Regions from separate parts of the Homo sapiens genome. Here region 1 is linked to region 2. The links are contacts of gene promoters, found by promoter capture Hi-C in blood cells and fetal thymus (Javierre and others, 2016). All regions are on one chromosome and are shown on one strand. The core of a region is centred on a gene start or on the middle of the fragment in contact, and the rest is flanking DNA. Distances in the headings are between cores, read along the strand shown.

Region 1 (6,394 bases), core at 2,279-4,778, 410 kb before region 2:
GCTAACAGGTTACAGAGCAGGCATTTCTCAGCTTTTTCAAATATGAACTCGTTTAACCTTTACAACAACATAGCACTGTCCCATTTAACAAATGAGGCAGGCTGGGCGTGGTGGCTCATGCCTGTAATCACAGCACTTTGGGAGGCCAAGGCAGGCAGATCACGAGGTCAGGAGTTCGAGATCAGCCTGACCAACATGGTGAAACCCCATCTCTAGTAAAAATATAAAAATTAGCTGGGCGCAGTGGCACGTTCCTACAATCCCAGCCACTCAGGAGGCTGAGGCAGGAGAATCACTTGAACCTGGGAGGCGGAGGTTGCAGTAAGCTGAGATCATGCCATTGCACTCCAGCCTGGGAGACAGAGTGAGACTCCGTCTCAAAAATAAATAAATAAATAAAATTAAAAAACACCACACACACAAAAAAACAAATGAGGCAAATGAGATGCATGAGGTGAGAACCTTGTGCCACAGGGAGAGGCGCAGCCTGGTGAGATTTAATCCCAAGGGGCTGGCGGCTCTGAGCCCCCAAGTGTAACCACTGGACCACACTGCCTGTAGACTACCACTACCTCCACCCCATTGGAAGGCCGGGTGAGGCAATCGGGAAAGCCTGGAGCAGCAGTGGAGCTGCCAGAGAGAACCTGTCCCCAGTGTCCCCCTGGATCCTGCAGCTGCCCTGTGTGGGCCCTTGCTGCCTTCCGCATTGGAAAAGACCTTCTTACAGATGGGGTCTCATGACGCCACCCAGGCTGGAGTGCCGTGTCTATTTCCAGGCGCTGTCACAGGGCTGCAGCCTTGAACTCCTGGCTTCAAGCGATCCTCCTGTCTCAGCCTCCTGAGTAGCCTCCTGGGCTCAAGCGATCCTCGTGTCTCAGCCTCCTGAGTAGCCTCCTGGGCTCAAGCGATCCTCGTGTCTCAGCCTCCTGAGTAGCTGGGACTTCAAGCGCACCTGGCCAAGTCCCTTTTTATTCTCCACTACTCAAGACTTCTCCTTCCTCAAGGCCCAGCTCAATCTCACCTCCACCTAAAACCTCCGGGGCATTCCTGTAGTATTTGGAGGCTGAACTGCTCAGGAGGGAAGGGTGTTAATGAGCTGGTGTCTCGCCCTCATCCTGACTCCCGGTGAGAATGTAAGTTCTCTGCAGGCAAGGACTATATCTCATTACCATTTCTGTACCCACTCAGACTTGGCCATGTGTGCCCAGCACATAAAGTGTCTTCGATGACTGTCTATAGACCCACGGTACTTGAGATTGCCCCAACACATCCTTCTAAAATCTTTCTCCTTTTCAGAGGCTCACGAATGTTCAAACCAGGTCTACCGGGAACAACATTATGGTCATTCCGTTTATTCTGAAGCCCACATACAGGTCTGGAAGCAATAATCCCGCACAGTCTAGATGAAAAAATAAAGACCTTCCTGTTGTCCTTGGATTGTCAGAGCCTTGGGGGATTTTTAACATCTTTTGCTGCTTTCCTTAATTTCATGGTGTCGATGGCTTGTTGGGGGGTCAGCCTGACTCCTGCGAGTGCCCGTACCCGGAAAAGGGCTGGTGCCAAGACAGCTCCAGGACACTCAGAATGAGGGCAAGAGGCCACCCCCACCATCAGCCCCCTCCAGTCCCACTCCATACAACTGCAACACAGTGACCCAGCACACCTTGGGCCACTGCCAAGCAGGGAGCAAACCAGAAATGGTCTGAGCCCTCCCTTCCCCCATCCTCAGAGGGGCCTGCCCCTTTAGGTAAACACAAGGAGGCACCGAGGCTGCTGTACAAGAGTTGGTTCCTGCTCACTCCACAAACTCTACTTCCACCTACTGCAAAAGGTTCTGTCCTTTTTTTTAAAAAAAAAAAAAAAAAAGAAACCCAGTGAGGGGTGGGGTAGGTGTGTGTGGAGGAGAGGAGAAAAGGACAAGTGATGGTCTCCCCACCTCCCAGTAAGCCGCAGGTGCAGAGACTCCAAGCCTGCCTCAGGGCCCTTCCGGCATCTGTGCAGGAGGGTCTCCGCAGAAAAAACCCAGGACCCACGACCTGGGAGGACCCCGGTCACCCCCACTGTCTGGACCCACCAGTGGGAGGTAAAGTGTAAGAAACCAAGGGCAAAGGGCCCTCCCTGGGCGGGCTAGAGATCCCCTGGAAAGGGCCATGCACCGCGCGATCCCCACAACAATCTCAAGTATTTGGAGCATGTTGGGGAGGAAGCCCCGGTGCCAAAACCAAGCATGTGCCACCTGGAAGCCCGCTCCCGCCCACCAGCACACCAACCCACCCACGCTCCTGACAGAGCTGTGCTCCGGGTGCGTAGAGGGCCATCTTGTTCGCAACAACCGGGTGAAAGTTGAAATTCTAAGCTACTGACCCAGAAGGGTATTTTCGGGGAAGTTCTGAGTAATCCTCTTTGAGACAAGGTACTTTATCACTCATTTTGGTTCCTAAATATGGAAAGCCAGAGGAAACCGACAATGGCCCAAAGGCAGGGGGATGGCCCCGATGACTCCTTCACCTCCAACTAAGGCCCATGATTCTGTTCTCCTATCAATAAAAATTAATTCATGGATCCTTGGCAGGTACCTTTCTATCTGAATGAATTAAAGGAGGGACATTAAACAAACGGTTTCTAGATTTAGAAGAGGAGACGCTATTTATAATTTGAGGACTGAGGAGGACAAAGGATCCTGCCTGCCTGGATCCTTTGGAGAAAACCACAAAGGAAAAAAAAAAGGAAGGAAAAGACAAATAATGAAGATCTGGATTTCTCTTAACCTGCCCTTGTGGCCTCGGTGTGCCCATCTGTGAAATGGAACTTCAGAGTGCCAGAGCGGGAGCCTCTTATGAAATGAAAGCTCCTGAACCGGCTCATGGTGAGGCCCAAGTCAGGCCCCCTTCGCCTACTTAAGGCGGGCCCTGCTAGGGTGGAGTGAGGATGTCAGCCGCGGGCGGCGTCCTGAGCGCAAAACGTGAACCCGAGTCGCCAAGTTTGGGCGCTGCTGGACGGTCCCATCTGGAGGCCGTCCCGTGCCCCACTAAGTAGAGGAGAAACCGAAGAGAATCCGAAGAAAGGATGCTGCGGCCTGGACCACCAGCCCTAGAGGCTGAACCCAAGGACACCCCTCCACCTAGCCCCGACCCCATTCACCCACACAGACGCACAGGGACCCAAAGCACCCGGCCGACCTGGAAAGTCAGCGATTCCTGCGAGGGTGCAAGGGGCGAGGAAGAGGGAGCGTCCCCCAGGGCAGCCCCTCCGACACTCGAGCAAGGGCTGGAGACAGCGCAGGGGACGGTCGGCTCAGGTCGAAAGCGGCCCGACAGCGGCCCTGTCCTGGGAGGAACTCGACCTGCAGTGTGCCCGCCGCGGGGACTCGCTCAGCTCCGGGGGCGCCTCGCCACTCCCGGCCGCAGGCACTCAGGTGAGCAGCGCTGGTCCCGGGACACCGACCCCTCCCCACCCCGGGCGCGAAGCCCACCTGAGTAAGACTTCTTCATGGTGCCTCCGTGGCCGCCGCTCCCAGGAAAGTGTGGCGGCGAGGCAGCGGGGCGCGCGCTCCCAGGGCGCTAATCCTGGGCCGGTAGTAGGAAGGCGGGAAGAGGGGGCGGCCCGCCGTCTGGAGTGCACCGACCGGGCCCCGCCCCGGCCCCGCCCCCGCCCCGCCCCTCCCCGGAGATGCGCATAGAACCCCGGCCCAGCCGGCTGTGGTCCCGCCCCTGACCCGCCCCCTCCCCGCCCCGTGAACGTGCGCGCCGAGCCCCACCCCCGCCCACCCCTGCGCTGCGCTGCACCTGGCGGAGCGGGGCTGGCGGGCGCCGGGCCTGGGAGGGGGCGCCCCCGCGCGGCAGCGCAGACCAGACCAGACCAGGCCAGGCCGGGGGTGGGGGCCGCCTGCGTGGCCCGCCGCGCCCGCAGCTCTGCACCCCCAGCTCCCCGCGCTGGCGCCAATGGCTGGTTCCGGGAGTCGCCGCACTTCCCAGTCCCGAGTCCGGGCGGGGCGGGCCCGGCCAGGTGGAAGCGGGCGGAGGTGCGGGCGCTCCGGGCGGCCCCGCCGGGCGAGGCGGCGGCGCCGGGCACCGCGGCGGCGCCGGGCACAGCCGGGGGTCGGAGCCGGGGTGCCGGCTTAGTGGGCCGGGGTAGGGCGGGACAGGACACCTGTCCTGCTACTTTTCTGGTAATCAAAAGGGCAGAGTGCGTCGATTGAGTTGGAGCCTTAGTTTCCTCACCTGTAAATGGGCGCGTTGGACAGATGATCATTTGTTCTCCCTGCGCTGGGCACCGTGCGCAGCTCGGTGTATCGGTGCAGCGGGGCAGACACAGGGAGCCGCCCTTTACAACTCGGGTAACGCAGGCAGTGGTGAGAGGATGCAAAACTTGCACGGAAGAATTCTCTCTACTTGGATATCCTTAAAGTCTCCACGATAAAGCGGTGTTTCCAACGTACAGAGGAAGAAGTGACTAATTATGACTGGAGGGTGGTGTCAGAGTTTTATTGAGGCGAAATCAAAACAGGGTTTTAAGGAATGAGCAGGAATTAGCCAGGCAGCCAAGGTGATGGAAGGCAGCTGTTCCCGAAAGAGGGAAGGGCGTGGCGGAGCCTGGGAGGCCTGAGGTATCACAGCGAGTGTGGAGAGACAGAGGCAGGGCCGGGCCCTTGCACAGCTGCCAATGGAGGCCGTAGAGGACGAGAGGAAGGCGGGAGGCCAGTTGGGAAGCGCTCGCTAGTTCTGGGTAGGGGCGCAGCATTGCCTTCTCCTGCAGCCCTCCCAAAAATGCACAGGAGGCTGAAAGTGTCACTAACAGCCCCGAAAAATCCTCCTCCTCTTCCCCTCTCCTTTACTCTCCTTGGGGGTCCAAGAAGCATTTTCATTTCCTGCCTGAGTGTGGGAAACTTATATGCATGAGAACGGAGGCCTATGTGGCACCGTGGGTTCGTTCCGGCCCACCTGCTTCCTTTCTTGAGTAATCTGTCCAGCCACAGCCCTGCAGAGGGAGCAGCCCAGCCAGAGGAGTTTCCCCTCACCCCAGGTAGAGCTGATTGGACCGGAGTGGACACTGGACTTCAACTGAGTCCACCCCTTTCCTTATCTGGGGGTTAGAGGCTCAGGAGGCCTCGGGAGGGAAGTGCTGTAAGGGAGGGGAGCAGGGAGTATGGACGAATTGTGAACAGCGTCCTGGATTCTGGGATGTCCACACCCTAACCGCAACCCCCACCCACACGCCCACTCACCGCTTGTACCAGCACCAGCAGATTCCGGCTTAGGCCGTGTCCTGACTTGGCCAGCAAGCACCATGATGACACTGCCCCCAGCCTAGCCATGATGACACTGCCACGAGCCTAATGCCTGGGATTCCCAAAGTCCAGCGGTGTCTCAAGAATCTGGGTTATGGGTGCATTGCTGGCTTTGTCCATTTTACTCAGCACAAGTCAGAGGTGCCCTGGAGCACAGTCACCCTGAGGATGCCAGCCCTGGCTGTTCCCTGGCTTTGGGTAGGTGGGTTCCTCTGCGGATGCTCACGCTTCTGCCTGGGGTCACAATTCACAGGAACCTGGGCACCCAGGACCCAAGGACACCTGCGTGGAGTGATGTTGGACACATCACATGGGTGCCTCCTGTGTGATGGTTCCTGGATATCCGAATTTTCCTTCCGATTCCAAGAAATCAGAAAGAAGGACAAGAGAGAGGGAGGGAAGGCTGGGAATGAGGGTTCTACACATTTTTGAGATGCATGAAGCTTAATCTGTCATGAAATTAGAGTTAAAAAAAAAAAAGAAAAATTAAAGAGATGCACGAAGCTTAATTGTTTAAGCCTCAAATTTTGTTTTTATTTATTTATTTTTATTTTTTATTTTTTGAGAGGGAGTTTTGCCCTCGTCGCCGAGGCTGGAGTGCAATGGTGCGATCTCAGCTCACTGCAACCTCTGCCTCCCAGGTTCAAGTGATTCTCCAGCCTCAGCCTCTTGAGTAGCTGAGATTACAGGTGCCCGCCACACCTGGCTAATTTTTTTTTTTTTGTAATTTTTTTCTTTTTTAGTAGAGACAGGGTTTCACCATGTTGGCCAGGCTGGTCTCAAACTCCTAACCTGAGGTGATCCCCCCGCCTCAGCCTCCCAAAGTGCTGGGATTACAGGTGTGAGCCACCGCACCTGGTTTATTTATTTATTTATGAGACAGAGTCTCCCTCTGTCACCCAGGCTAGAGTGCAGTGGCATGATCTCAGCTCACTACAACGTCCACCTCCCGGATTCAAGCAATTCTCTTGCCTCAGCCTCCCAAGTAGCTGGGATTACAGGCACACGCCACCACAACCGGCTAATTTTTGTATTTTTAGTAGAGACGGGGTTTTGCCATGTTGGCCAGCCTGGTCTCCAACTCCTGACCTCAAGGTGATCCACCTG
Region 2 (6,401 bases), core at 2,653-5,152:
GTGCAGAGGCCTTGCTGCAGCAGTCATGAGCTTGTTTGAACACCCCCCTCCACTTCCACCACTAGATGGTAAGATGTCCAGGGCAGAGCCACACGGCCCATGCCCAGGCTCCCCCCAACACACATCTCCCCTAGGCAGGCACGCCCAGGGTCATCAGCCTGCACCACGGACTGGCCAGGGTGTCCTCATACCTGTGCAAGGGGTGTCATATAGGTGTGTGTGCTGTCACACTGGGTGGGAGGGAGGGCTGGTCAGAACAGGACTCCTGTTCCTGCCTTCAACATGTAGTTATTGATTATCCAGCAGGAGCCAGGCTCTGGGGTAACCCCAGGGGGACAGCAGGGAACAAGGCACAGAACCCTTCCTTCCTCAAGTCCAGACCCAGGGTCCTGCTGCTTCCCTCATCAATCCTAGGCCCCAAACAGGCAAGCTGAGCTCACCAGCACAGCCTTGGGGCTCTTCTGGGAACTTGAACCTATCAGAGGACTTGATGAACTGGTAGAGCTGAGAGGGGCGCCCTCCCACCAACCCCAGATCAGGGTGAGGAACCCCATCTTGTGTGGAGTCAGGCTCCCTGGAGAGAGCCCCACGTCATGCCAGAGACCTCCGGGCCTTGCCCCTCCACTCCCCGCCCTCAAGTTCCATGCTTGTTTGTGTCTTTATGCAAGACTTGCTTTATGCATTTTAATCTTCATTATTTGAAACTGGCAGAGCAGTATTTAATTAAAATTTGGTCCATTAAAGAAAACATATAATTGCAGAAGGAAATAAAAAGCACAACAAAATTCCCAGCCCATATTTAAAGGAAGCTGTTAGAGATTTGGGCAGAGAAGAGGAGAACCCCAAAGCAGAGAGGGGCTTGGGAGCTCCAAGGAGAGACTCGAAGACCACACCCCCAGCAGGAAGGACAGGAGACATGATTCAGTAGGCAAGACCGCGCAAGGGACACTTTCCTTAGCGCAGAGGGACGCCTCACGGAATTCCACCAAGCCTGGGGGTGGGGCTCAGATCTTGGGGTCCCTCAGAGGAAGTCAGGTGGCTCTGGAGACAACAGCCACGGCCATGGCACAGGAGAGGTGCTGTCCCATGCTCAGGGAGATCCCAGGGGAAATCAGCTATTTGTCCTCCCAGTCTGAGGACAAGGACGGACTTCCCCCACTCATGTCTCTAGTCCCTGGAGAAGAGGCCAGGGGAGTGAAGGAGTTGTATTTAGAGCTGGGGACCTGGGCTGCCTGCCAGGATCCAACAACCCTGCTATGAGAAAGGTGTCTACCCCCTTCAGCCCAGAACCTGAAGCCCCCTAACACACCTCATCTGCATCTCCCTCTGCCAGAACCCCATCCTGGGGTTCAATGTCCCCCAAGGCAGCTGGGGGCCATTTGGAGTGGATTCAAGTTAAAATGGCTTCAGCCATCCATGTATCCACTCAAGCAACATTCCAGGGGCACCTATGGAATAAAGACCCTGCCAGCAGCCCTGGGAAAACCACAGGGAACAGGACCCCAGCCTGCCTTTGAGGATGAATAAGCTGGGGTGCTATGATTGCAGCCTGCCCCCCACCTCAACTGAAGGGACTCACTGATGGCTGCGGGTCTCCGGGCAGCCCAGGGAGACCCTGGGGTGAAGTTACACAACTTTGGGGACCCATGCACCTCCACCCCCAATCCTGCCTTCAGATAAGGGCCTGAAAGAAAACCAGGGCAGGACCAGACAGGGAAGCAGCCCTGGGTCGCGAGCACTGTCCGTGGTGCTGGGGTCTCGCGGCTGCTTCCAATCGCGCCAGGAAACACCCAGCGGCCCGGAGGGCGGGACAGGGATGGGGTCGGAAGGGGCGAGGACCCTCCAGCGTTCCCAGTCAGGCCAGGGATTCAAGGCCTTCCCTGGAGGAGCAAGGCCCTTTCCAGAGACGCCTGCTTCCCGCCCTGCTTCCCATGGGCTCCCGACGCCCCCATCACCACCCACGGCCTGCACCAGCTCTCCGGGCCTCCCGGACCCCCGGACCGCAGAGGTCCAGCCTGACCCCTGCCGTCCCCTGGGGTTGCCTCCTCGGCCCAGCAGACAGGCCCGGTGTGCTGGGAGGCGGGCTCCAGGTGAGCCACCGTCTCCCCGCCCCCATCCCCGTCTGGAGCCGGCAGGGGGACCACAGTGGGGCTGGGCCGAGACCTGGAGGGCAAGAGTTCAGGGCCCCTGCAAGCTCCGCCTTCTCGGGCTCCTTCCCGCGCCCGGAGCCCACCTGTGGCCACGTCCCGAGTCCGGCCCCCGCGCCGGGGCGGTCACTCCCCCAGCTTCCTCGCTGCCCAGCTACCCACGGGGTGACACTCGGGCCCCGCCGGGCGTCCACTGGGCAGCGCCCCCTCCCCACCCCGCTGCGGGCCGGTTCCGCGGATGCCTGGGAGGAGAGGGGGCTGCCCCGGCACCGCTGGGCCCTGGGGGCCCCTGGCTGGGTCCAGTGAGTCCCGCGCGGCCCCAGCCCTGCCTGGCCTGGGCCCCCAGGTGTTGGCCGCCCGAAGCGTGTCGCCTTCGCCACCGCCCGCCCACCACGCTCCGCCGCAGCCTCGGCTCCAGCCGCCCCGTAGCCCTGCAGCGCCGCCCCTGCCCCCGCCTCTCCGACGCCTGCGATCGGGGGCGAATCCTGGGATGAGCGAGTCCTCGCTCTAATCTCGGGACCCTCTCGTCGGAGCCAGGCCCGAGCCCCGCGGGGAGGAGAGCAGTGCCACCAAAGGCTGGGGAGAGGGTGGCACAGGCGGAGGGGTTGGGGGGTAGCCGACCTAGGGGCAGACGGGCGGGACGGGAGGGACCGGAGGGGGAGCTCCAAGGCGCCGCACACTAACTTTGCCACCCGGATGGGACCGTCCGCGGGGTGAGGAAGGACCCTGAGGGGCTGGGAAGGGGCGCGCAGGCTGGGGCAACTTTCTGGGCCCAGGACCACGACCTGGGGGTTTTCTGCCCCCATTCTTACCTCTGCACCCCGAGTCCTCTCCAACCCTGCCCAACTCGGGACAGGTCCCCGAATAACACAACCCTCCCCATCCGCACCCCGAACCCCAACGCCATCCGTTCCCCCAGCCCAGCCCCACTGGTCATCACCAGGGGTTGAAGTGTGAACCGCCCCCTCTGCCACCAGGACTTGAACGTTCGCAGGAACCGACCTCGCCCACCTCCACCCGGCGCCCCCCTGGGGAAAAAACCAACCAGGAGGGAACTTTACCGAAAGGGTCTCAGGGTGACCAGGCATCTTCTGACCATTATCTTCCCATCGGGGTTGACGGTGATCATTGTTCAAACTTGTTGGTGCGAGCAGCCGCGGGCGAGGCCGGACGCACCGTCCTGGGCCCAGCTCTCGCCGCGTCCGGGCCACGAACCCTCTGCGGGCCGAAGCCGCGTCCGAGCGAAGCTGGGAGCGCGCGGCCCGGTGGCCTCGCTGCTCAGGCCTGGGCGTGCAGCGGAGGGAGCGGCGCGGCTGCCGGAGGGCGGCGAGGGCGCCCGGCCGGGCCGTCTCTGCGTCTCCGCCCTCCCCGCTTCACATTTTGGGGACCGGGAGGCGGCGCGCCCCCAGACCGCCGGCCGCGCGTCTGCCTGCTCGGGCTCGCTCGCTGGGCGGGAAGGTGCCGCGGCGCGCAGACGGGCTCCCCGCGGCGGGCGCCCTCATCCCCGGCCCCGCGCCCTCGGTGCCGGCTAAAGGCGGCCCCGGGCCCGCGCCCCGGTCCCCAGCGCCTCCGGGCCGCGCCGATCCTCAGCCCCGCGCCGCGCCGCGCCCATGGCTCTCGACGAGGGCAACCCGCGCCCGCCGCGCGCTCTCTCGCCCGCTGGCTCCGCCGCCCGCGCTCTGGTGTCCGGCGTCCGGCCCCGCGCGACGCTACGCCCGGAGGCGCCGCATTGTTCCTCGGAGGAGGCGGCCGAGCGGCGCTGGGGCGGCCCGGGAGCTGCAGCTGCGCTTCCAAGGCGCGCCGGCGCCACCTCGTGGCCGCAGCCCCGCTGTGCGCCCTGCCCGGGGCCGTGCGGGGCTGGGACGCCGAGGACCAGCTTCGAGGACGGGCGGGCGGGGGTCCCTGCTCCTTCCCCTGAGCCAAGCAGCTTCCCAGGGCGCCACCAGCCCCGAGGGCCGAAAGCTGCTTTGGCTCCCGCAGAGCACAGAAGAGATGCGCACCCAGCGGAGACCCTTCTCTTCTGCCAGGTGCCTCCGTGGGCTTCCTCATCAGCCGCTTCCCACGATTTCGCTTGGCAACACATGCCTATCTTCTGCCCCTCCCTGGTCAGAAACTCCCGTGGCTCCTCTTTGCTTACTGATCTGAGTATAAACTCGGCCTGTGGTGCTGGGGCCCGCTCACAGAGCCAGGCGCAGGGGCGTACTGAGTTGTAGCCCCAGATCCTCCACTAGCCAGTGGGCGATCAAGTGTGCACGTCTCAGAGTCTCCATTATGAAATGATAGTGACCAGAAGCTCACCAAGGTCCCTTGCAACCCTAAAGCATGTAGGATCTCATGTCGTCTCTTAGCATCTAGGCGTCCTCCCCTCCCCCTCCTCGTACTTCCTGGCTCTGGAGATGTGTTTGCAGTTGCAGAGACAGAGACTCCTGGGAGCTCGCAGAGCCAGCCTGAAGAAAGCTCTCCGGCTTCAAAAGCACTTCCCGAGGTCATATCTGACCACCCCACCCTGGGAAGTGCCCAAAGCCTCAGTCATGTGTCAAATGACTCTGAGGGTCTTCCCAGCTCAGGCCACGATGCTGCAGCCTGGCTTATGCGAGGAGGAGACTTTATTTTCCTCCAGCTGGGCCTGGTCCCCTCCAATCCCCCATACCCAGGCCCCTTGCTGCCTGCCCTGCCCACCTCCCGGCCCCCTTCCTGGGCCATTACTCACTGGCCATGACTCACGCTCTCTGCTTTGCTGCTCCTTCTTCATCAAAATTTACCGGTGCTGAGTTCCATTATCTCACTGCCTTGCTCTCTGCTAATGTGAAAATGGGTGATAAATTGGTGTTAGCAGATATAATGTGTTACACAGGCTAGGTAACAAATTTGCATTGAACAAGGACATGCTGACCGTGCCTTTGTGCAGAAGAGTGATGAATGGTGGCCGGAAATTTGGGCATCGTGGCAGGCTGGCTAAGGAGATGTTGGAGGGCAGAGGTCTCTGCCAGGCCTGTAAATCACATCTCATGCCTGGGTGCCTACATCTGCCACAAATCCTGGCAATAAGCCATATCTACACTAAGGAATGAAATGGTCCTTCTGATTAGGTGTCTCTCTTCTGATTGGGGGTTCTTCTGATTGAGTAGGCTTAGGGGGTGGCATTTATATCTGGTTGCCATTTTAGGCCAAAGGGGAAGCCTCTTCCTCAGTGGTGGAGATGGGGTTCCCTAGAAGGCATGGCCACCTCTGGTGTGGGTCATCTGGGGAGGTGGCCTACCCTCCACAGAAGCCAGAATTTAGAAGGTAGGGGAAGGTACTCCCCTCTTCCCCTGGGCCACACACCCTTAGATCTGGACTTTGAAGTTGGAGCGGGAAAGCCTCTCTGCCATTTGACGGCTGGCTTGGGCCAGGGAGGGAAGCAAGCAGAGGACAGCCAGTGACTTTTTTTTTTTTTTTTTTTTTTTTTTGAGATGGAGTCTCGCTCTGTTTCCCAGGCTGGAGTACAGTGGCGCAATCTCGGCTCACTGCAAACTCCGCCTTTTGGGTTCAAGAGATTCTTCTGCCTCAGCCTCTTGAGTAGCTGGGATTACAGGCACGTGCCACGATACCTGTAATAAATGCCTATAAAAATGCAAAATTTTTGTATTTTTAGTAGAGACAGGTTTCGCCATGTTGGCCAGGCTGCTCTCAAACTCCTGACCTCAAGTGATCCGCTTGCCTCGGCCTCCCAAAGTGCTGGTATTACAGGCATGAGCCACTATGCTGGGCCAGCCAGTGGCATTTTGCAAGCCAGATTGTCCAGCTGCCTGTCCCTTTTGAAGTCTGTCCCCTTTTTTTGGCCTCTTGTCTGCAGTAAAGTTCAGTGTAAACAGTCCTGCTTGCTCTCCACTGTGCTGTAGGCATTAGGAGAAAAACTGTGAATCCCACATCATGCAGTCTTGGGTATAACCTCTTCATGCCTCAGTTTCCTCAACTATAAGTGGGGCTCCTTATAACCTGCTTCATAGAGCTGTTCTGAGGATTGAGCCGCTTAATGCAGGTAAGTAGCCCGTTGCCAGGACCTCCTGAGCCTTTCAAGCATGGTGGTTCTGATGGTTGTTACTGTCCGTCAGGAACAGATGCTGTTTGTGCCCAGTCCTGGTTCCCACTGCAGTCACCTCTGCAAGCTAAGAGGCAGATGACTGAGAACACCTTCAACTCTCTGCCTGAGGACTTTTTTTTAATGGCTGTGGGAATATGCTAGAACACAAAAGGGCAAGAAGAAAGGACCCT

The links. Contacts are between HindIII fragments. The CHiCAGO score rates a contact against its expected background, and 5 or more counts as called.
Region 1: the fragment with the promoter of SEPTIN9 here is called in contact with the fragment with the promoter of MGAT5B in region 2 in 1 of 17 cell types (naive CD8 T cells); the score reaches 5.7 in naive CD8 T cells.

What each region holds. Positions count from the first base shown.
Region 1 is chr17:77,278,633-77,285,026 of GRCh38, reverse strand. It overlaps SEPTIN9 (septin 9), which reads right to left and starts at 3,528. Exons shown (of 12, transcript NM_001113491.2): 1 at 3,473-3,528. The coding sequence starts at 3,491. SEPTIN9-DT (SEPTIN9 divergent transcript) reads left to right here and starts at 3,130. Exons shown (of 3, transcript NR_136503.1): 1 at 3,130-3,415. RefSeq lists a silencer at 3,034-3,197 and an enhancer at 4,799-5,446. The HindIII fragment of the contact is 6,769 bases long and covers 1-5,732 here.
Region 2 is chr17:76,865,905-76,872,305 of GRCh38, reverse strand. It overlaps MGAT5B (alpha-1,6-mannosylglycoprotein 6-beta-N-acetylglucosaminyltransferase B), which reads right to left and starts at 3,902. Exons shown (of 18, transcript NM_001199172.2): 1 at 3,209-3,902. The coding sequence starts at 3,276. RefSeq lists a silencer at 3,758-4,067 and an enhancer at 4,405-4,699. The HindIII fragment of the contact is 19,574 bases long and covers 1-6,401 here.